Regions from separate parts of the Homo sapiens genome. Here regions 2, 3, 4, 5, 6 and 7 are each linked to region 1. Evidence: promoter capture Hi-C in 16 types of primary human blood cells and fetal thymus (Javierre and others, 2016). All regions are on one chromosome and are shown on one strand. Each heading gives the region's core, a stretch centred on a gene start or on the middle of the fragment in contact. The rest is flanking DNA. Distances are from core to core; before and after follow the strand shown. Region 1 holds the start of UCHL1 (ubiquitin C-terminal hydrolase L1). Region 2 holds the start of SLC30A9 (solute carrier family 30 member 9). Region 3 overlaps TMEM33 (transmembrane protein 33). Region 4 holds the start of TMEM33 (transmembrane protein 33). Region 5 has its middle 19 kb from the start of LINC00682. Region 6 has its middle 14 kb from the start of LINC00682. Region 7 has its middle 31 kb from the start of LINC00682.

The links. Contacts are between HindIII fragments. The CHiCAGO score rates a contact against its expected background, and 5 or more counts as called.
Region 2: a contact is called between the fragment with the promoter of SLC30A9 here and the fragment with the promoter of UCHL1 in region 1, in 4 of 17 cell types (M1 macrophages, M0 macrophages, M2 macrophages and 1 more). The highest score is 12.9, in M1 macrophages.
Region 3: a fragment that was not itself captured here is called in contact with the fragment with the promoter of UCHL1 in region 1 in 1 of 17 cell types (M0 macrophages); the score reaches 7.0 in M0 macrophages.
Region 4: the fragment with the promoter of TMEM33 here is called in contact with the fragment with the promoter of UCHL1 in region 1 in 3 of 17 cell types (M2 macrophages, M0 macrophages and M1 macrophages); the score reaches 17.7 in M2 macrophages.
Region 5: a contact is called between a fragment that was not itself captured here and the fragment with the promoter of UCHL1 in region 1, in 2 of 17 cell types (M1 macrophages and M2 macrophages). The highest score is 5.6, in M1 macrophages.
Region 6: a fragment that was not itself captured here is called in contact with the fragment with the promoter of UCHL1 in region 1 in 12 of 17 cell types (monocytes, M2 macrophages, total B cells and 9 more); the score reaches 9.6 in monocytes.
Region 7: a contact is called between a fragment that was not itself captured here and the fragment with the promoter of UCHL1 in region 1, in 1 of 17 cell types (monocytes). The highest score is 5.5, in monocytes.

Annotation. Positions count from the first base shown.
Region 1 is chr4:41,255,411-41,258,442 of GRCh38, forward strand. UCHL1 (ubiquitin C-terminal hydrolase L1) reads left to right here and starts at 1,518. Exons shown (of 9, transcript NM_004181.5): 1 at 1,518-1,599; 2 at 1,705-1,716; 3 at 2,199-2,327. The coding sequence starts at 1,567. UCHL1-DT (UCHL1 divergent transcript) reads right to left here and starts at 1,317. Exons shown (of 3, transcript NR_102709.1): 1 at 1,149-1,317. RefSeq lists a silencer at 1,634-2,393 and an enhancer at 2,228-2,728. The HindIII fragment of the contact is 2,127 bases long and covers 771-2,897 here.
Region 2 is chr4:41,988,920-41,991,951 of GRCh38, forward strand. It overlaps SLC30A9 (solute carrier family 30 member 9), which reads left to right and starts at 1,611. Exons shown (of 18, transcript NM_006345.4): 1 at 1,611-1,841. The coding sequence starts at 1,733. RefSeq lists enhancers at 1,283-1,362, 1,643-1,782 and a silencer at 1,492-1,711. The HindIII fragment of the contact is 8,038 bases long and covers 1-3,032 here.
Region 3 is chr4:41,952,394-41,955,425 of GRCh38, forward strand. TMEM33 (transmembrane protein 33) reads left to right here. Exons shown (of 7, transcript NM_018126.3): 7 at 1,677-3,032. The coding sequence ends at 1,806. Among named protein-coding and RNA genes, the nearest start is that of TMEM33, 18 kb to the left of the region's middle. The HindIII fragment of the contact is 804 bases long and covers 1,169-1,972 here.
Region 4 is chr4:41,933,950-41,936,981 of GRCh38, forward strand. TMEM33 (transmembrane protein 33) reads left to right here and starts at 1,480. Exons shown (of 7, transcript NM_018126.3): 1 at 1,480-1,580. The coding sequence starts at 1,536. It overlaps LOC105374426 (a long non-coding RNA gene), which reads right to left and starts at 726. Exons shown (of 3, transcript NR_188374.1): 1 at 657-726. RefSeq lists enhancers at 1,320-1,499, 1,740-1,789, 1,800-1,869. The HindIII fragment of the contact is 15,520 bases long and covers 1-3,032 here.
Region 5 is chr4:41,899,952-41,902,983 of GRCh38, forward strand. No RefSeq gene overlaps it. Among named protein-coding and RNA genes, the nearest start is that of LINC00682, 19 kb to the left of the region's middle. The HindIII fragment of the contact is 6,769 bases long and covers 1-3,032 here.
Region 6 is chr4:41,866,663-41,869,694 of GRCh38, forward strand. No RefSeq gene overlaps it. Among named protein-coding and RNA genes, the nearest start is that of LINC00682, 14 kb to the right of the region's middle. The HindIII fragment of the contact is 3,839 bases long and covers 1-3,032 here.
Region 7 is chr4:41,850,228-41,853,259 of GRCh38, forward strand. No RefSeq gene overlaps it. Among named protein-coding and RNA genes, the nearest start is that of LINC00682, 31 kb to the right of the region's middle. The HindIII fragment of the contact is 5,985 bases long and covers 1-3,032 here.

The sequences.
Region 1 (3,032 bases), core at 268-2,767:
ATAACCTAGTCACTTGTCTTGACCTTCACCTCTTTTTTTCTTTAACAACCTTATTGAGGGAAAATTTACATACCATAAGATTCACCCATTAAGCTCCTCTTACTAATTTTTTTCTCTCTCATTTTTGTGTGTGAAGGTCATTTTCTAATGGCAAAAATGGAAAGAAAATAGAAGTAGAATGTTGTGGAATCTTAGATAAAGAATGGGCTCTTGGAGCCCAGTTTAGCAGGGTTTACTTCTCAGTTTTACTTTTCAATTGTGACCGTAAGCAAATTAACTTCTCTAGGCCTGGGATTCTGATCTGTAAAATTGCACTAATATGAGTCTCTTCACGGCTCCTCTAAGGATTAAATGAGAGACACATGCAAAGGATCCCCAAAAACAATAACTCAAAAAATGTTGATTCCCTCCCTTCCCTCTGTCATCTGTTAACCTCAACTTCCTAAATAGAAGGTCTATTCTTTTACCATCATCATTATTCTCTTCGGTGCCTATTTTTAAAAAATACTCAACCTTCTTGCTTCCTTCGCTACCTAAGTATTTCTGCAAGCCCACTTTGTTCTGCAGCTTAGCTTTCCTGGCACAATTCTTATAGATTTTGGTCCCTTTTAAAATTCATTCTTCAGCAAATGCTTTCTCTCTCCATCTTTTGACTAGAGATCATTAGAGATCACCTGAGATCATTAGAGAACAGTGGTTTCCTTGGTTGCCATTCCCTTTCTTCTTCATTGGGAGTATTCTGCGGTGAACTCAGACATTTTATTTTTCAAAGCTTCCCATTCTTTTAAAAATGCTTTTCCTTTTACAGCCTCTCGCTCAAAATCATACCCATCTTTTCCCTGGATCTGTTTTCTCAAGTCTCCAATCGCCTGCCTTCTTTGTGTCTTGTATTACCCTCACATCCCCCAGCTTTCTACTGCTCTCCCAGGACCAACCATTTCTTCCGCGGGAGTCACATTACATCAGCATTCCTAATGCAGTATCTGTTATCTACCAGATTCTGTTTTATTCTAGGTAGTCACTTAAAAACGAACCTCGGTACTGGTCTGACTTAACATGGAGGAGGAATTGTCTAAGGTTAAACGCAAACTGCTGAGAGATTTGGGGCGGGGGGCACACATTTACATTCATTCGTATTAAATATATACCTGTTGAATTTGTGCTTTTTCTCAAATGCTTCAGAGACTCGAGCTTTAGAGTAATTGGGATGGTGAAAGGATGGGTTTCCAGAAACTTCGCCCAAAATTAAAGACTCCATCAAAAGGACTGCTCCATACACTCAAGGAACACCCACCAACAAATCCCGTCTCCACAACCACCAGATTATCTCACCGGCGAGTGAGACTGCAAGGTTTGGGGGCCCGGCCGTACCACTCCGCGCTGCGCACGGGGGGTTCGTACCCATCTGGCCGCGACCGTCCGTTTCCCCCTCGCTTGGTTCTGCCCCTGCTCCCCCTGCACAGGCCTCACAGTGCGTCTGGCCGGCGCTTTATAGCTGCAGCCTGGGCGGCTCCGCTAGCTGTTTTTCGTCTTCCCTAGGCTATTTCTGCCGGGCGCTCCGCGAAGATGCAGCTCAAGCCGATGGAGATCAACCCCGAGGTGAGCGCCAGGTGCACCGCTACCCGGAGAGCGCGAGGCCGAGGGAGGGGGAGCCGAGTCGCTGATCGGTTCGGTTTTGCCTTTTTCTTTGCATTTGCCTTTCAGATGCTGAACAAAGTGAGTGGCGTCTCGCGCCGTCTCTGGCCCCCTCCCCCGCGAGCGCCGAGGCGGGGGCGCCCACCGGTTCCGGCTGCTGGCAGGGACCAAGCCGCCCGCTGCGAGCACCGGAGACGGCCGGGCTGGGGCGTGGGCTGGGCGCCTTTCCTGGGCCCCTGCATTTAGCGGGTGACTCTACGAAACCGGTCACGGGGAGACGGAGGGGGCTGCGCCCCGTGGCGAGCGAGCGCCAGGCGGAGCTCCCGAGGGCGTGGCGCGGGCAGCACAGACTCGGCTGCACGGGCTTCGCGGGCGCCACGTGTGGGCCGCGCTTTGTGCTGTGTCATTGCGCCGGCCCGGGTGGGGGTGGCAGGGCGGGACTGGGGCTCCTCCCAGGCTCGGGTGCGGGCGCGGAGGGCGCGCGCCTCCTGGCCCCGCCCCCTGGCAGGTGCCCGCGACCCGCGTGTCCCCGTGCGCCTGGCCGCCTTGTCTCCTCTCCGCAGGTGCTGTCCCGGCTGGGGGTCGCCGGCCAGTGGCGCTTCGTGGACGTGCTGGGGCTGGAAGAGGAGTCTCTGGGCTCGGTGCCAGCGCCTGCCTGCGCGCTGCTGCTGCTGTTTCCCCTCACGGCCCAGGTAGGGCGTGGGGCCCAGGATGCGCCGGCCGCCGGCAGTGCACGCCGCTCCCCAGCTTGAGTCCTCGGGGGCTCCCCGCCCCGCCCCCTCCCCTGTAGGTGATGCGGGGCGCGCCTACAAGGAAGGGAGGAGCCTGCATTTTCGTGGTACCTACTCCCTGGGCTCCTGTTCCAGCGGTGCCTGTCGCCTTCTTGCCCATCCGTCCACAATTGCCTTAAATTTGGAAGAGAGGCAGTATCTCAGTTCCATCTATCCCGTTATCCAGGGAAATCATTCATCCTACTCATGAGTTCCCTCGAACTTGGGCTTTTTCGAGCCTCCGGTTCCGGGGAATGGCTGCTGGTTTCCCTTTAAGGGCTATAACCTGTCAACTCATTGTTTGCTTCTCAGACTCCCACCTAGCTGTAGAATGGAGGGGGAAGGGCTGACCTAAATCGCAGGGAAACAATTAGGTTCGCTAATTCTCCGCCTCCATTACTTGGGTTTCTGATGGTCTTAAGGGGTTCTTCTCTCTTCTCCACTCCCACCACTTGCACACTTGGTTTTTAGCCTCTTGAATGTATTTCTTAAAGCTTAATCATTTTGTGTATGGTTTCTGTGTGGGAACCTCCTTCCTCTTCACTTATCCTTGTTCATCTCTGACCTTGTAGCTAACTGAAATAGGGGGTTATTAGCTCAGTTTTGAAAGCACCTTTGCATTTCCCT
Region 2 (3,032 bases), core at 361-2,860, 730 kb after region 1:
CAGGAAAGCACACACTGTGAAATTTTACTGTGCACCAACATATTTTACACATCAGGTGGGCTGTTATGGAAATTAAGAACTCTGCACAAAATGTATTTTTTTTAAAAGTTTTATCAAGAAAGGAACATTTTCTTCTAAAAATGATTAGTACAGCTAAACAAAATAAAAATAATAATCCTATCGCACAAATTAAAAATAAAACCTGAGAAGTTTTGATCAGGCTTGCCTAAAACGAGTTGAAACCAAAGCCATTTTAAGAATCCAAAATATGAGATTAGTTTTGTTCAAAAAGAATTATCCATAAAAGTTAATAGATGTTTGCATAGTTACCATAAAATAAGAGGTAAGCCTTTATGTATTTTTACTTCATAAAGTTGAATTTCTATTAAAATCTATTACAAGAAAGGGAAAGTAACTTTCCAGTAATATTCAGATTTTTTAGTAATATTGAGCCTACATTTATGGGACATCATTTTTTAATGTTTGTCCACTGAATATTTTAAGTTATGTTTGTCATAGGAAATTAAATTTGCTTACCATTCTTAACGATAATCTCTTTCCTCATTTGGTTATACTTATCTCAATTAGTATAAGAGACTTGTTGATTTTTTTAAAAATTAAGGACATACTAAATTTCCCCGAGATAGTTATTTTGCAGTAATATAGATAAGCGACTCAGATTAACTTTAAAACAAACCACCATACATTCCATTCAATTTATTTTTGCCAGGCATTGTTTTAGCGGCTTTATACAGCCATGTACAAAATAGACAAGATTCCAGCATCATGATGCTTATTTTCTATTCTAGGACACAAAATAGAAAAAAAAATCTCAAATAGTGATAAGCGTTTTGAAGAAAAGTATATAGGACAGCCGGGTAGAGAATGACCAGGACTACCATAGCTAGGGTGGTCAAGGAAGGCCTCTCTTGAGTTTGAGTTAAGAGCTGAATGAGCATGGCAGAGAGAAACAGTTAACGTGGATACTGTTCAGGTTTCTTTCTCCCTGGGACCAAAATGTTTCGAAGTCTGCATACCTCCGTTTACCCTAACTTGTCATGAACATAAAACCTCTTATATTGCAGGCAAAAATCTGAGGTTCACAGATTAGTAGGGCAAGTAGCTGATTCCGAAGTGTGTACTTGCCTTTATGATACTGGATACACACTGGTGTTAACAAGGAGAACGATGTACGTGGCAGACGTTCGGAGAGTACTGGACATGTTGGTTCTAATTTGGGTTTATCCTGGCAGGCTCTAGGTAGAGAGGCTCAGAAAACCTGCGTCCATCCTTCCCATCTTTCCTCCCATTTCCGAAACCACGGCCCCGGTTTCGAGTCCAGAAAAAAAGGAATAAGTAGAACTCCCAAAGGACAGCTTTCCTGGCTGAACAAGATGTAAACAGTTTACGTGATTTCCAACCAAGCGCAAAAGTACAGGTGCAAAAGAAGACGGCAGACACCAAACTTCCCCTGCAGCCACGCCCTCCCCACTTTGGGAGTCTGGGTCCCCGGGAAGGAAGGCCTCCCTATTGGTGCTCAACGTGTTACGTCACTTCCGCTACCTCCACGGCAGGCGTCGCTAAATGACGTTGCCGTTTCCGGGTCACCCAGGCAGCTTGTGGCGGCGAAGCCATCGGTGTTCGCTGATGTCCAGTCTATGGAGTCAGTTGGTACCGGTGGCGGCGCGGAGGCAGAAGGCGGTGTCCGAGTAGGGGCCTCTGCCCCACCAGGATGTTACCCGGCTTGGCCGCCGCCGCGGCCCACAGATGTAGCTGGTCCTCCCTGTGCCGGCTCCGTCTGCGATGCAGGGCGGCGGCCTGTAATCCCAGCGACCGCCAGGGTGAGTGTCCCGCGCTGGCCGCTGGCTCCGTAGAAGCCGAACTGGAGGGCCAGGCTGGGCTCGGCGCCTCGCCTGGGGCAATTCGCCCACTTGCCTTTCGCCAACCTCAGAACCTTCCTTTCTGGCCTCCGCCTTTCCAGTTCAGCCTGCGCAGCCCGCGGGGGTCCTGACAGGTCTCTGACTCTGATGCCTTCTGCAGCCCTAGCATGGCCCCCGCGGGAACTTGTGGGCACCTCGCGGGCCGGATTGCACCTCTGAAGCCTACCGCTTTGTACCAAACAAAATGTTACGTGCGCATCGCGGTGTCCCGCGGTTACTCACCTCCGCGGTTGGAAATTGCGGACTCCGCAAAGTTCCAGGGTCTTTGGAGCTTTCCAGCGCACCTTCATTTAGCACTTGGTTGAGATTTTCTTGGCCTTCTTTTTCTTACTCTCCCAACTTATTTTCTTAAATTTTCTAAAAGGAAGGAGGGGTGCTACTCACTACGGATCTTTTGGAAGAAGTACGAAAGTATCCGACAATCATTGAATGAACCCAGTTTGGGTCCGAAAAACAAAGAAACTCTTCAGTTCGGCTGAGCAGTCTTTTTGGTGAAAAGGTGGCAGTTGTAGTGGTAACCCAGAAAAAAAGGTGGTTGAAGAGAATTTTCGTCTCTCTCAACATTCTTTTCTGACTCAAATTTAAATGGTTTGAGAGTTTCCAAAATAACATTGAACTAATCAGGCTTACCTTCGTTTTTGCCGTAGCTTGACACACATTGCTTGACACTGAGAACTGATAGGATCTCTGAGGGAGAAGACAGAACTAAGTCCACCCTTAACCTAATCCCTCCATTCTTGGGATGCAGAGAGTATTTACCGAAACATTCATGTTCGAAGCCAGGTGTGGTGGTGCGCTCCTGTAGTCCAGCTACTCGGGAGACTGAGGCAGGCAGATCTTTTGAGCCCAATAGTTCTAGGCTAGCCTTGGCAACATAGTGAGCTGTCTGTAAAAACATAGGTTTGAAAAAACCTGTAACATGTTCGTGACCTCCTGAAAGAAGTCGGAAGTTGCAGTCATTCGAGATTTTATGTAATATAAGCTATAGTAACTATGCTGTGGATATAAATTAGAATATATTCGTATCTTTTATTTGCAATAAATGTAAAGCTGAATCTTAGAATTTCAAACGGATAAATTTTAACAGCACTA
Region 3 (3,032 bases), core at 321-2,820, 700 kb after region 1:
ATACAGGATGAGTCAGCACATAAGGTGAAAATTGTGAATGGTTAAAATTACCCTTGATGATCCTTCATATCACTTATAAATGTCAGTACAGTATACATGATTTTGTGTATACTAGCCTGTATAATATATGTGATATCTACAGTATGTAATAATACTTTGTAGGCAGTGAGCACAGTTAAGACATAGGCAAAGCCCACATGGTTTTGGGCACAAACATGCAACATAAGTTGATGATAGGAGCGAGGGCAGGGAGTGGCAGGAGATGGGGCAGAAAATTAGATTGAGACTAGATTGTGGAGGGTATTGGGTGTGACACCGAGTACTTGGGCTTTAGTCGGAAGGCATAAAAGAGTCATAGTTCAGTGTATTGATCCAACTGGGAAGTAACATTTATTGAGCATCTTCCATATTGCATTTAAATTTCACCACAACTCAGAATTATTTTACAGAAGAGGAAATCTCTGAGGGACAATATGTACATTTAAGGAAATAGTGGGTGAATAAATATAACTGTCCATGTTATATATTTTAAAATATATAAAAAACACTGTCCATGTAGTATATTTTTTCTTGTTCTGTTTTAAAAAACTAGTTGAAATTGCCTAAGTTAAATGTGAAAATGATGTGACTCTAAAATATATATATATAATTTTTAAAATTTAATCTGAGGTTTTAGAGATAGCCATTTATTAAATACCTTTGTTAAATGAGTGTTTCCACCCATAAAAGATGTAGGTGTTGTTTGAGAATTTCATTGTATTTTGTGTTTTCTCTACAATGCATTCTAGTTATTCTTTTACTTCAAATTCTAATGGCTATGGTAGATTCCTTCATGAGTATTTGTTTAGCATTAGAGGCATACTTCAGAAATGTTGTGGGAGTGGTTCCAGACTACCACAATAAAGTGAATATCACAAAGCTGTCAGATGAATTTTTTGGTTTTCCAGTGCATACAGAAGTTATGTTTACACTCTACTGTAGTCTGCTAAGTGCGCAATAGCATTACCATCAGCAGTAAGGCTGTTCTGCTTTCTTATCATTCATCCGTTCACAGAAATGGGCTTTTAATTTTCTTCAGGAACTTTTCCTTTGCATTCACAGCTTGGCTATTTGGCACAAGAGGTCTAGCTTTTGGCCTGTCTTAGCTTTAGCCATGCTTTTTTCACTAAGCTTAATCATTTCTAGTTTTCATCTAAAGTAACAGACATGGGAGGCCTCCTTTCACCTGAGCACTTAGAGGCCATTACAGGGTTATTAATTGGCCTAATTTCAGTATTGTGTCTCAAAGAATAGGTAGGTCTGAGGAGAGGGAAAGAGACCAATCAGGAATGGCCTTCATGAACTGCTTCATCTTATATTTGTGCAGTTTGTGGTGCCCCAAAACAGTTACAATAGTAACACCAAAGAGATCACCGTAACAGAACAGATCACAGATCACCATAATAGATTAATAATGAAAACATTTGAAATAGTGGAAGAATTGGCAAAGTGTGACGCAGAGACATGAAGTGAGCACATGCTGTTGGAAAGTGGCACTGATAGTCTTGCTGTATGCGGTGTTGCAACAAACCTTCAATTTGTAAAAAATGAAATATCTATGGAGTACAATAAAATGAGGTAAGCCTGTGTATTGCTTTTTCCTTGTGTTTCTCAAAGAAAACTATTTTGTCTTGCAGGACCTTATTTAATGAACTGAGGATTGTTGTTGAACACATAATAATGAAACCTGCTTGCCCACTGTTTGTGAGAAGACTTTGTCTCCAGAGCATTGCCTTTATAAGCAGATTGGCACCAACAGTTCCATAGTTTAACATCTAGTTAAGCTACAAATATAGTATAAGCATTATTAGCAGCTGGTACTTCTGCTAGGGGTTGTAAATTCCAGGTGTTACACTGACCTCAATCCAATTTACATAATTTACATAAATGCATCTCGGTGGAAAAATAATCATTTTCTTGGCATGTTAAATCAAGCTTAAAAAGTTTTGAGAAAATTTTACTGCGCTGTGTTGCTAATGGTTAAAGAAGTCTGTATCTAGTGATAAATATACCAGTTTTTTTAAAAAGATGCTGTTGTGCCTATATCATGAAGTACATTAATTTCTCATGTAAAAAAAATAGCTCTAAAATTTGTTTCAACCTAATTGGTAACCTGAGTTTATATCTGGCATGAATTCATTATGGTGATACACATATGTGAATTCAGTACATTTTGAGACAGTATTCTACCATTCAGTAATTTTGGTTAATGATTTTAACACTTCTCAGTGTATTTAATTTCAAATTGTTTTTTTAATTGGTTTTATGCTGCTTTGTTAGGACAGATGTGTTTTGAATGTACCATTATAAGAAGAATTCTATGTATCTTAAACTATGATCTTCTAAAATTTTATTTCCGTAAGTACTTCTGTGGCCTTGAGTATTTTTTAAAAGGCTCAACTGTAAGCCTCTTAGCCAGTTGGATAAATATTTGGGGTCACCTAGCCATTGAAAGCAGAAAGCAGTAGTGACACAGCTTTCCCTTCAAAGAGCCATTGAGAAACATTTCTCAAACAGGAAATCCTTCTTTTACTAATGTGGACATATAGATTATTCGTATTATAGTTTGTAGAACTACCTAGTTCAGAATCTTGACTGCCAGTTTTCTTGGTTTCTTAGGCTTGAATTTTCATAGACAATTGCAACAGTTTAGATGCCTTTTGAAAGGAATGTAATGAAGATTCAGCATCTGACTATATGTGTGTCTATCCTGAAATAATAATGGAGAGTATACTGTAGATTACATGTTTACCCATCAAATCTGACTTAAAAGGTTAAATGGAAGGTTTTATAGGTAAGGTAATTGATTGGGAATGGGGTAGGGGGAGGAGTTGTGGGGGAATAATGTGCATTTCAGTCTCAACGCATAGATAAATTTAGGGGAATTGGATGTATTATTCAACTTTGATTTGGGTTGTAAAATGTGTTAAATCCTGTTCATTGAACTCCCATCAACTCTTATAAAATTCATGCTGATCTTCATTACCGTTGCA
Region 4 (3,032 bases), core at 230-2,729, 680 kb after region 1:
GTCACACTCAACTAGTCCTCTCGCTGTCCTGTTACTTCTTGCACTTTCTGTTACTCTGTATGGAGTTCCCTTCCCGTTTTAAGGCAGAAGAATATGGTATGGCGGTAGGGAACCTAATGCCCTTTCTCGCTGACTTCCTAGAACTAAATTGAAGGAAAATCCTTACTGTCCACGCTTAAGTGAATAAAGGGCCAGATACTACTCCCTTTGCAAGCCCCAACCTGTTCTGCGCAGATTTGGGAAATTGAAAGTACCTCTGATTGGTTGCTTTTTGTAACCAATCAGACGTTTGCATAGAAGTGTAACTTTGTAACTTCTTCAGCCTCTGATTGGTTGCTTTGCGCAACCATTCAGACTGATTGCGGGCCACCACTTCATTTACATGAAGTGAACTCCAAGTGGCCAATGGGAAACCTCTAGGGGGTATTTGGACCCGAGAAGACTCTGTATCCAGGGCCCTTGAGCTGCTGTCTCACTCTCCCACACTCTGGAGTGTACTTTCATTTTCAACAAATCTCTGCTTTTGTTGCTTTATTCTTTCCTTGCTTTGTGCGTTTTGTCCAATTCTATGTTCAAAACGCCAAGAACTTGGACACCCTACACCAGTAACACTTTCAGCCAACTTTTTGTCGTTCAAGATCAAGGCCCGGACTTACCTTTTCCAGGAAACCTCCCCAGATCCCTTCTGATTTAGGTACCGTCCTCTGTGCTCCCTGTGATTAAATCAGCCTCTACACATATTACACAATCACTATGCTCTGATTTCCGTTTACTTGTTTCTCTTTTGCAATCTGTGTCATATTCCTCTTTTTATCCGCCGTGCCAAGTATGGAGCCTGTCACATAGCAGGCCTCATAAATACTTATTGAAAGAATTAATAATAGACGTAGAACCAACGGGCTTAGTAAGCCCCTGGAGAAAGGAATCAAAGATGTTTCTGAGGCCTCTATATCAGGAAGTGCGGAAATTTCATGGTTTGAGAATGGGCAGGAAAGATCATTTGTGAGCTGTATTTAATGCAAAAGTTGCTCCCCCATCCTGATTTCTTAGCTCACTGGGCCAATCGGCGGAAGGACAGGTGGGGCTCAAATTAGGAGAAAAAAACCACACTTCCCGTCATGCCTCTGGGCACCGCTCCCGTTTCCCCCTCTTTGTCACCGCCTCTTCCCCACGGAAATGAAAGGAGCACTTCCGGGTTCGGCAATAACCTGGAGCCGGCGGCGTAGGTTGGCTCTTTAGGGCTTCACCCCGAAGCTCCACCTTCGCTCCCGTCTTTCTGGAAACACCGCTTTGATCTCGGCGGTGCGGGACAGGTACCTCCCGGCTGCTGCGGGTGCCCTGGATCCAGTCGGCTGCACCAGGCGAGCGAGACCCTTCCCTGGTGGAGGCTCAGAGTTCCGGCAGGGTGCATCCGGCCTGTGTGTGGCGCGAGGCAGGGAAGCCGGTACCCGGGTCCTGGCCCCAGCGCTGACGTTTTCTCTCCCCTTTCTTCTCTCTTCGCGGTTGCGGCGTCGCAGACGCTAGTGTGAGCCCCCATGGCAGATACGACCCCGAACGGCCCCCAAGGGGCGGGCGCTGTGGTAAGTGCGAGGGCAGGGTAGTCTGGCTTGATTTGCAAGAGTTAGGAAGAAGCAGGAAGCGTTGCGAGTCCCGAGGCGTTCCAGAAGCTCAGTGCATTCAGGAATGGGATTAATGAGTTGGGGTGGGGAAGTTGGAGCGGGGAGAGGGGAGGTCCTGAGCGAAGATATGGAGGGAACTACAAGTTTGTTTCTGAAGCGACAATAGGCTGACCTGGAGCTGGTGGCCCCCACCTGTATGCCATGGAAATTGGGCCTTCTTTCCTCTTCTCCCACCTCGGTCTTTTGTTTACCGTAGGCCCCAAGGTTAAAGATGCCGCATGAGATTGTGCCATGACACACATGATCCATGACACACACCACGTGGAGCACACGAGTGCCGGCAAAGAACGTTTCTGCCTAGTTTATACAATCGTATATAGAAATTATGCAAAGGGAGGAGAGCGGTGGTCTTTTTCTTCTTCACTTTGTTCTTTATGAAGAGAAATATCATTATGCTTTTGTAATTTTTTTAAGATGCTGATCTGGAGCTAACAAGTTATTTGTGCCCGGAGCATTGCTGTCCTCTACTTTTTAATCCATAAGTAGTTAAGTATTATTCTGTGTGACCACAATGCAGTTACCACATTTGGGAAATATTACCTAATATAAAATCCATGTGCAAATTTCCATAATTGTCCTTTAAAGCTGCTTTCTCTTCATCTGGGATTCTGTCAAAAAGCATGCATCGATGGGCTGGCGCAGTGGCTCACTCCTGTAAGCCCAGAACTTTGGGAGTCCAAGGCGGGAGGATCGCTTGAGTTCAGGAGTTAGAGACCAGCCTTGGAAACATAGCGAGACCTCATCTCTACTAGAAATCAAAGAAATTAGGCGGGGCGTGGTGGCTCACGCCTGTAATCTCAGCACTTTGGGAGGCCAAGGCGGGTGGATCGCTTGCGCCCGAGAAGTTGAAGCTGCCGTGAGCCAAGATCGCGCCACTGCACTCCAGCCTGGGTGATAGAGCAAAACCTTCTCTCAAAACAAACAAACAAACAAACAAACATAAATTAGCCGGTCGTGGAGGTGCGCTCCTATAGTCCCAGCATAGTCCCAGCTACTCAGGAGGCTGAGGTGGGTTGTGCTTTTGCGCTCCAGCCTGGGGTGACAGAGCGAGACCCTATCTCAGAAAGCATGCATTCAATTTACTGGCCATATCTTGTTTACTGCCTTTTAATCTAGAACAGTTCTGCCCTCTCCTCCCCTTTTTTGTCTTTTAAGATACTGATAGTTTTCAAGAGTCCAGACATGTTTTGCAGCATATATAGGTACATCTAATATGTATATCTATATTATATATCAGGAAGCATTTTACATTGATTTATCCCATCATTGCAGAATTTGTTTGATTATTTGATTAAGGTGGTGTCCACCAGTTTCTCCATTGTAAAGATACCTTTTTTCCTTTCTAATTAAAAA
Region 5 (3,032 bases), core at 285-2,784, 640 kb after region 1:
GTAAAGATAATTTGGACTTTGGTCCAAATGTTAAAAAAATATATAATTGTTTACACTTGGACTTTGATATTCTGCACAGGCGTATGAACCTACCCACTTCCCTTTACAAAATCGTTAGAAGAAGAATTAAGTTAGAGCTAAATTGCTAAAATTTGACAAAAATGAATACTGTAAATGTTTTAAGAAAAAGTTCATGTTCTCTTACAAACAATTTTGGATTATCCATATTAAGCAAATATCTCAGGGTAGATCATTGTTCCTTATGATAATTGATTTAAGCCTTATTACTAGATGGTATAAAATCCCAGAATTGACAACTGAACCTACCAGAAGCACAGAGTGATAAATTTTTCACAAACACTTTGAAATATTGATAAGTAGAAAATGTGTCTGTATTTCTCTTTTCCAATACATTTAACAGTGGTTGTATTTTAGAATGTAGGTGTTCTATTTATGCTGTTTAACTATTGATAATGTCTCTTTATGTATGAGCTGATATTTGTAAATGTGTGTATATTTATAAACATATATTTGTGTGTATATATGTACACACATAGATTGTATATACACATATTTATTATCATTCATGTCTGTTTTTGAAGAGGCTGAATTGTGTGCACAATTTCTGAACTTTTTTTAATATATATATAGTTTAAGTTCTGTAATACATGTGCAGAACATGCAGGATTGTTACCCAGGTATACACATGCCATGGTGGTTTGCTGCACTGATCAACCCGTCATCTACATTAGATATTTCTCCTAATGCTCTCCCTCCCCTAGCCCCCAAACCCCTGACAGGCCCTGGTGTGTGATGTTCCCCTCCCTGTGTCCATGTGCTCTCATTGTTCAATTCCCACCTGTGAGTGAGAACATGTGGTGTTTGGTTTTCTGTTCCTGTGTTAGTTTGCTGAGAATGATGGTTTCCAGTTTCATCCATGTCCCTGCAAAGGACATGAACTTATCCTTTTTTATGGCTGCATAGTATTCCATGGTGTATATGTGCCACATTTTCTTTATCCAGTCTATCATTGATGGGCATTTGGGTTGGCTCCAAGTCTTTGCTATTGTGAACAGTTCTTCAATAAACATATGTGTGACAGTTCTTCAATAAACATATGTGTGCATGTGTCTTTATAGCAGCATGATTTATAGTCCTTTGGGTATATACCCAGTAATGGGATTGCTGGGTCAAATGGTATTTCTGGTTCTAGATCCTTGAGGAATCGCCACGCTATCTTCCACAATGGTTGAACTAATTTACACTCCCACCAGCAGTGTAAATGCGTTCCTATTTCTCCACATCCTCTCCAGCACCTGTTGTTTCCTGACTTTTTAATGATTAGCATTGTAACTGGCGTGAGATGGTATCTCACTGTGTTTTTGATTTGCATTTCTCTAATGACCAGTGATGATGAGCTTTTTGTTATATATTTGTTGGCTGCATAAATATCTTCTTTTGAGAAGCACTTGTTCATATCCTTTGCCCACTTTTTAATGGGGTTGTTTGTTTCTTTCTTGTAAATTTGTTTAAGTTCCTTGTAGATTCTGGATATTAGCCCTTTGTCAGACGGATAGATTGCAAAAGTTTTCTCCCATTCTGTAGGTTGCCTGTTCACTCTGATGACAGTTTCTTTTGCTGTGCAGAAGCTCTTTAGTTTAATTAGATCCCATTTGTCAATTTTGGCTTTTGTTCCCATTGCTTTTGGTGTGATAGTCATGAAGTCCTTCCCCGTGCCTATGCCCTGAATGGTACTGCCTAGGTTTTCTTCTAGGGTTTTTACGGTTTTAGGTCTTACGTTTAAGTCTTTAATCCATCTTGAGTTAATTTTTGTGTAAGGTATAAGGAAGGGGTCTAGTTCCAGTGTTCTGCATATGGCTAGCCAGGTTTTCCCAACACCATTTATTAAATAGGGAATATTTCCCCATTGCTTGTTTTTGTCAGGTTTGTCAAAGATCTGATGGTTGTAAATGTGTGGCATTATTTCTGAGGTCTCTGTTCTGTTCCATTGGTCTATATATCTGTTTTGGTACCAGTACCATGCTGTTTTGGTTACTGTAGCCTTGTAGTATAGTTTGAAGTCAGGTAGCATGATACATCCAGCTTTGTTTTTTTTTTTTTTTTTTTGCTTAGGATTGTCTTAGCTATACAGGCTCTTTTTTGGTTCCATATGAAATTTAAAGTAGTTTTTTCTAATTCTGTGAAGGAAGACAATGGTAGCTTCGTGGGGATAGCATTTAATTTATACTTTGGGCAGTTTGGCCATTTTCATGATATTGATTCTTCCTATCCATGAGCATGAAAAGTTTTTCCACTTGTTTGTGTCCTCTCTTATTTCCTTGAGCAGTGGTTTGTAATTCTACACATCCTTCACATCCCCTGTAAGTTGTATTCCTAGGTATTTTATTCTCTTTGTAGCAATTGTGAATGGGAGTTCACTCATGATTTGGCTCTCTGTTTGTCTATTATTGTTGTATAGGAATGCCTGTGATTTTTGCACATTGATTTTGTATCCTGAGACTTTGCTGAAGTTGCTTATCAGCTTAAGGAGATTTGGGGCTGAGATGATGGGGTTTTCTAAATATAAAATCATGTCATCTGCAAACACAGACAATTTGACTTCCTCTCTTCCTATTTGAATACCCTTTATTCTTTCTCCTGCCTGATTGCCCTGGCCAGAACTTGCAATACTGTGTTGAATAGGAGTGGTGAGAGAAAGCATCCTTGTCTTGTGCTTGTTTTCAAAGGGAATGCTTCCAGCTTTTGCCCATTCAGTGTGATACTGGCTGTGGGTTTGTCATAAATAGCTCTTATTATTTTGAGATACCTTTCATCAATATCTAGTTTATTGAATTTTTAGCATGAAGGGGTTTTGAATTTTATCAAAGGCCTTCTCTGCATCTATTGAGATAATCATGTGGTTTTGTTATTGGTTCTGTTTATGTGATGGATTATGTTTATTGATTTGTGTATGTTGAACCAGCCTTGCATCCTCAGGATGAAGCTGACTTGATCATGATGGATAAGTTTTT
Region 6 (3,032 bases), core at 216-2,715, 610 kb after region 1:
GCATCTCTCGCTTAGCACATAGGCAAGAAAATGGGGCACGACCCCCAAATCCACTCCCTTCCAGCCTCCGAAAAATGCACCCAGGTCTTGACCCTCCACTCTTCCGCTCCCCAGCAGAACGAAAATTTCCTCAGGCCCTAGAAAGCCTCATTTATCATTCTCGTGGGGGCTCAAATGACAACGCTTCTTGTCCCAGCACGGCTGTGAATCGGGGCCCCCCACTTCTGCTCCCTTATCCTTCCTGCGCCCCTCCCGCTCCACATCCCAGCCCATAAGGAGACAAGGTGCAACAGCCAGGGAATGAGCAAGCAGGAGAAGTGGCCGAACGGATAAAGGAGGCACTGTTGTGGTTGCCGCAGCCGCTGCCCCCATTCAGGGACCGAATTGAAATGGATATTTCCCTCCTCGGCCCAGCTGAACGAGGCTCAATGCCTCAAAGATGCAGAGCTGCCTCGGTGGACATGCTCTGTGGCTGATATTATAATTTTCATAATGCGCTTTTATGTCGCGCCAGACTCCTCCGGTGAGGAGCCCGCAGAGCTGCTGAAAGGGGCTTTGAGAGGCCCGGGCGCGCGGCTGCTGCGAGCTGCGCGCCCCCCGCCGGCCTGAGTGGCACCGCGTGCCCCTGCCGGGGCGCGGCTCCTGCACTGCGGGCGCGCAGGCGGCGGCGGGCTCTGCCGGCGCCCCTTATTAGCATGCACCCTGGGTGCGCCTGGCCTGCTCCCGCTGCTTCCGGGCCTCTCTGCGCCCCTCCGAGTCTCTGCCATCCGCCTGGGTGCGAGGTCCCTGGCCTTGCTCCTGGTCAAACTCCATTCCGCTCCAGCTCAGGCTTTAGGGAAGGTCAAGGTGTTAAAATGTGGGCAGAACATTCCGGAAGCAGTCGGGGGCTGGAAGTCTTCCGACCTGAGTGGAGGCTGCTTTCCCAAGGGTCCGGAAGCAAAGGGACCCTTGCTGTGAGGGGTTTGTAGCGAAGGCAGGCATTGAGTGGGAGCCTCATCATTGCAACGAGTAAGGTGTACTATTTTGTTCTAAGCACTTAGCAAGTATTAATTGCTAAATCCTGGTCATGAGGAAACTGAACAGCAGAGAGGTTAAGTAGTTTGCCCAAGGTCGCACAACTGTTAAATGGGAGGGTCCACATTTAAAACAGGTGGTCTCAGAGTCCCTGTGTTTTTAACTCAGCGAATGGCTACTTCCTAATATCTGCTATGTGTTTGGCCACAGCAGTCAGTTCACCAGCAAGCTCATTTGCCAGATGCATAATAGGGAACAGATCAATTAGAGATTAATCAAAATGTGTGGTCCTCACCTCTACTAAGTTATTAGAGCTGACTGGTACTGGGTAATAGTTCAAATCACCTCTTTTTCCCTCTTCTTTATTCCAGCTTCACAGTAGGAATTTGCATGAAATACTTAGAGCCTCTGAGAGCCTAAATCAGACAAATACTTTGCCTTAGTTACCAATAAACACATTAAAAATTAATAAATATGTATCATGGTGAAACTAAAAAAAAAAGAAAGAAAAAAGGAGAAAATCTGCATTATAAAAGAACTTTCCAAATAAACTCATCATTTTTATTGGCCCTGGATGGAGAATTTAAAAATATAACTATAACTTAACCTTAACATATAGTAGGCCATGTTATAGCAGACTCCGGGCTACCATTCTTAAATGATCCCCTCCATCAAACTTGGAAATTGTTCATAAGAAATATCATGGAAAAGTTGTAAGACTGTAGTTAATTCTGTACCCAATGCCAAAGTTATAAAAAGTTTATCATAATTGCTCTCTTAAGTAGAGAGTCTGCTATTAAGGTTGCCAAATACAAACTTTATTTCTTTTGAAGAGGCCCAGCATGTGTATTGATAACAGAAGAGAACAATCAGTATATGTTCCCCTAATTCGTATTTGTTCAAAAGGTAGACAAGTACCAAATATATATATATACATATATATACATATATATACACATATATATACATATATACACACATATATACATATATACACATATATACATATATACACATATATATACATATATACACATATATACATATATACACATATATACATATATACACATATACATATATACATATATATATACATATACATATATACATATATACATATACACATATATATACACATATATACACATATATATACACATATATATACACACATATATATACACATATATATATACACATATATATACACATATATATATACACATATATATATATACACACACACACACACAAGCCTCAAATTTTTAAGTAGGAATCAAATAAACAGTGCATCTGCAGCTCGATATACCTGCTATGAATATCTGTCCTGCGAGCAATTGCCCCATAAACCCTCTGGGCCATATCATAGCCCCATTTGTCTATGACACTTTTCCTTGTCATAGTTAGAGGGACATTATGGTGTTGGCAATGCCCACCATGCACTGGGTAACAGAAATTAACCTCATGCCTTCATCTGCAATAATACCACAAGGTCAGTTAAGAATCAGTGTCAGATTGGGTTTTTATTTATCTATAAAGGCCTTTAGGGCTTAGTCTAAACTTGAAAATATTTATGACCTAGAAACTAGCAATAGATCTGAAAACACAACCCACAGATTCCATCCCAAGAGTTATTATATTTTATTCCTTAAACCAGCCTCATTGTTTTTGTTTATGAATCTGCTGGTGTAGCCCTGCATATCTAATGGAATGATCCCAAATTACAGCTAAAATCTGTTCTTCCTGATTTGTTGCAAAGCAATGAAAGATAACTACATCTGAAATTGGGAAACAGCAGCTGCTCATACATTTCTTCATTAAATAAACATCAAGATACCTGCTGATTGAAGCCATTTTGGGGTTTGGATGTGAATGGCTCTTTAAAACCCTTCCCATATGTTAGTCTCTATTAAATTCAACAACTTTGCTCTGGTTGCCTCTAAATCAGAGGTTATTAAATCCTTATTAAAACTTGAAAATGTTCTGAAGTAAAATTGTATTGCGCACTTGCAAAG
Region 7 (3,032 bases), core at 334-2,833, 590 kb after region 1:
CCCAGCACTTTGGGAGGCCGAGGCAGGCAGATCACCAGGTCAGGAGATCAAGACCATCCTGGCTAACACGGTGAAACCCCATCTCTACCAAAAATACAAAAAAATTAGCCGGGCGTGGTGGCGGATGCCTGTAGTCCCAGCTACTCGGGAGGCTGAGGCAGGAGAATGGCGTGAACCCGGGAGGCGGAGCTTGCAGTGAGCTGAGATGGCGCCGCTGCACTCCAGCCTGGGCGGCAGAGAGATACTCCGTCTCAAAGAAAAAAAAAAATTAAGTTCCAAATGTATGGTTCTACCAATATTTATTGAGAACTTACTATGTGCCAAATAATGTGCTAGATGCTGGAAATTCAATGTCATGGCAAACAAAATCCACTTTCGTTAAGTGAAATGTGACAAACCACTTATTCTGATAACTCTTCCCACTAGAAACATTTTTAAATGATGTAAAGGTGTTTTTCCTTCTTAGAAAGGTAAAATGTATATTCAGAGAAATGCAAATATCTTGTGTTTATCTTGATGAATTTTTGCAAACTGGACAGATTTGTGTAACCAGCACCCAGACTAAGACAGAACATGTCTCAGCAGATACATGTTTTAAAAAAAGAAAGAACAAATTATCAGCACCACAAATGCCTCCCTTGAGTTTCATTTCAGTTACTAATCCTCCAAGAATAAACACTACGCTGACTTCTAACAGCATAGATTTTGAATTTTATGTAAATGAAATCACAAACTATGTTCTCTTTTGTGTCTGGGTTCTTTATTTATGCTTGCGGAATACATTCATGTTATTACATGTAATTGTACTTTGTTCATTCCCAATCTCGGTATAGTGGTGTAAACTATACGTAATATAAACATGCCACAATTTATTTAGCCATTCTGTTGATGGGTGTTTGTATAGTTTCTACTTTTAAGGCTACTATGAATAAAGCTGCTGTGAACATTCTTATAAGTGTCTTTTGGAGAATTTGTATATATCTTTCTGTTGGTTAAACACCCAAGAATGAAATTGTTGCATCATAGGTGTGCATAGGGTTAGCCTTAGTATATACTGCCAAACAGTTTTCCAAAGTGGTTGTACAAATTTACCTCCCCATACAACTATCTGTGAGAGTTCTTTTATATTTTTTAAACTTTGTAAATGCATCAAGGAGTAAGTAAAATAAGTAAGAAATATCCACAGGGCAAAAATTAAATAAAGCGGGAATCCAGAAAAGTATGTAGGGCACTGAAGTCAATTACCATCAGGAAGTATTTGCTGAGCCCACATGATTTGGGACTTGGGATTTCATGGCCTTAAGGGACATGGAGGATGAGAGACAAAGTGTTCGGGTGAAAGTGAAGTGGAAATAAACCCATTCTCCAAGAGGATGGCAAGAAAACTTCCTTTCTTGAACCTTGGCATTGAGTAGAGGAGCGCAGAGAGAAACCTCTCCTTCACCACCTCCACCATAGATTGTAGTGAAAGCTGGCCTTCAAAATGGTTTGTATTCCATTCACTGAAAGATAACTGAAAAGAAAAAAAAAGAGCTCATAGTTCAAATTCTTATTACTTTACAGATCTGAAAAACCTCAAGCCTAGAATTTAAAGTAGTTTTGAATGGGTGGCTTACCCAAGGAACCTGGGAAAAAAACCCTTCAAGCCAGACTTCAAATAAATTCCCAAGTAATTACCCAAGGAATAAGAGTTCTTGGTCAAAAATCACAGAACACACAAAAAACCAAGACACCACGAGCAAGAATTATTGGAAATAGTAGACAGCAGCATTGGAATTACCAAACAAAATTGACTATACATAATATCATTGGAGTTTCCATGGCAAATAATTTCTATTTCTGTCACTCAAGACCACGTTATTTTGTGATTTTCTGGTACTTTGAGTGAGAGTAAAGTTCACTAAGTGATTTTCTATTTCCTTGGCAAAAATTATTCTATTCAGATGTTTTCCAATTTCAGACCTTTAGATACCTCCTTAATGATTACTTCCATCTCATGATATACTATGCTATTATTTACTCAGTATTTCTTTTAAAATCGATTTATTTTTAGAAAATGTATATTCCTACTTTAGCCTAGCCCTAAGTGATAATATCTCAGAACCATGATGTACAAGTTGTGTTTGTGTTTCAAATACAATTTAAACACTTAATGACTAACATTTCAAATATTTGTCCAGGTATTATGCAAAACAATCTTAAACACTACCAGGGTTACATGAACTACACCATACAAAACTAACCTAGAGGTAGGTGGTGTGTGCCTGTAGTCCCAGCTACTCAGGAGGCTGAGGTGGGAGGACTGCTTGAGCCCAGGAGTTACCTAGGCAACAAAGGGAGACCCTATTTTCGTTTAAGAAAAAGAAAAACTAGCTTGGAGTAGAACAACTGGAATAGGTGCATTTCTTTTGGGGGAAAGAAACAGGCTAGGACAAGGTGCAGGCTGAGGGGAGCGACAGAAGGAATAGTGTAGATACATGTGGAAAAGGGGAAGATGAATGGCAAAAAGCAAAGAGCAGGGAAATACCAAAGATGAACCTCCTTAACTTACAGCTGTGCCTCGGAATTGACCCAAGTTCACTGATTGTCACAGATAGAGGCTGCCTTAGGAGTCTTCATGTTCAGCAGTGATCAACTGCATTCACACTGCCACACTGTTCACAGATGATGCTGTCAGGCTGACACACCCCCATTCCCAGGGCACTGGCTCTAACAAACAACTATGTCTCCCCACTCAAGAAAGAGTCTTCAAGAGCACACAAATGAAATTTTTTCTAGGTTATTTTAAGATAAAATTTAAATTCATAAATTTTTATACTTTATTTGTACATTTCAAATTACTTTCAATACATTTTACAACTTAAGACAGAATCGATTCCAGTCACCCTATTTTACAGAAGAAAAAATCAACCCAAGAGAGTTGATTTTTCTGATCTTCCTCCTATGCTCTGCCACGAGGTCCTATGTCCTCTTTTCTCAATTAGAGATTAAAACATGATGGATTTGGTCTTTCAGCCAGTTGTCACATTTTC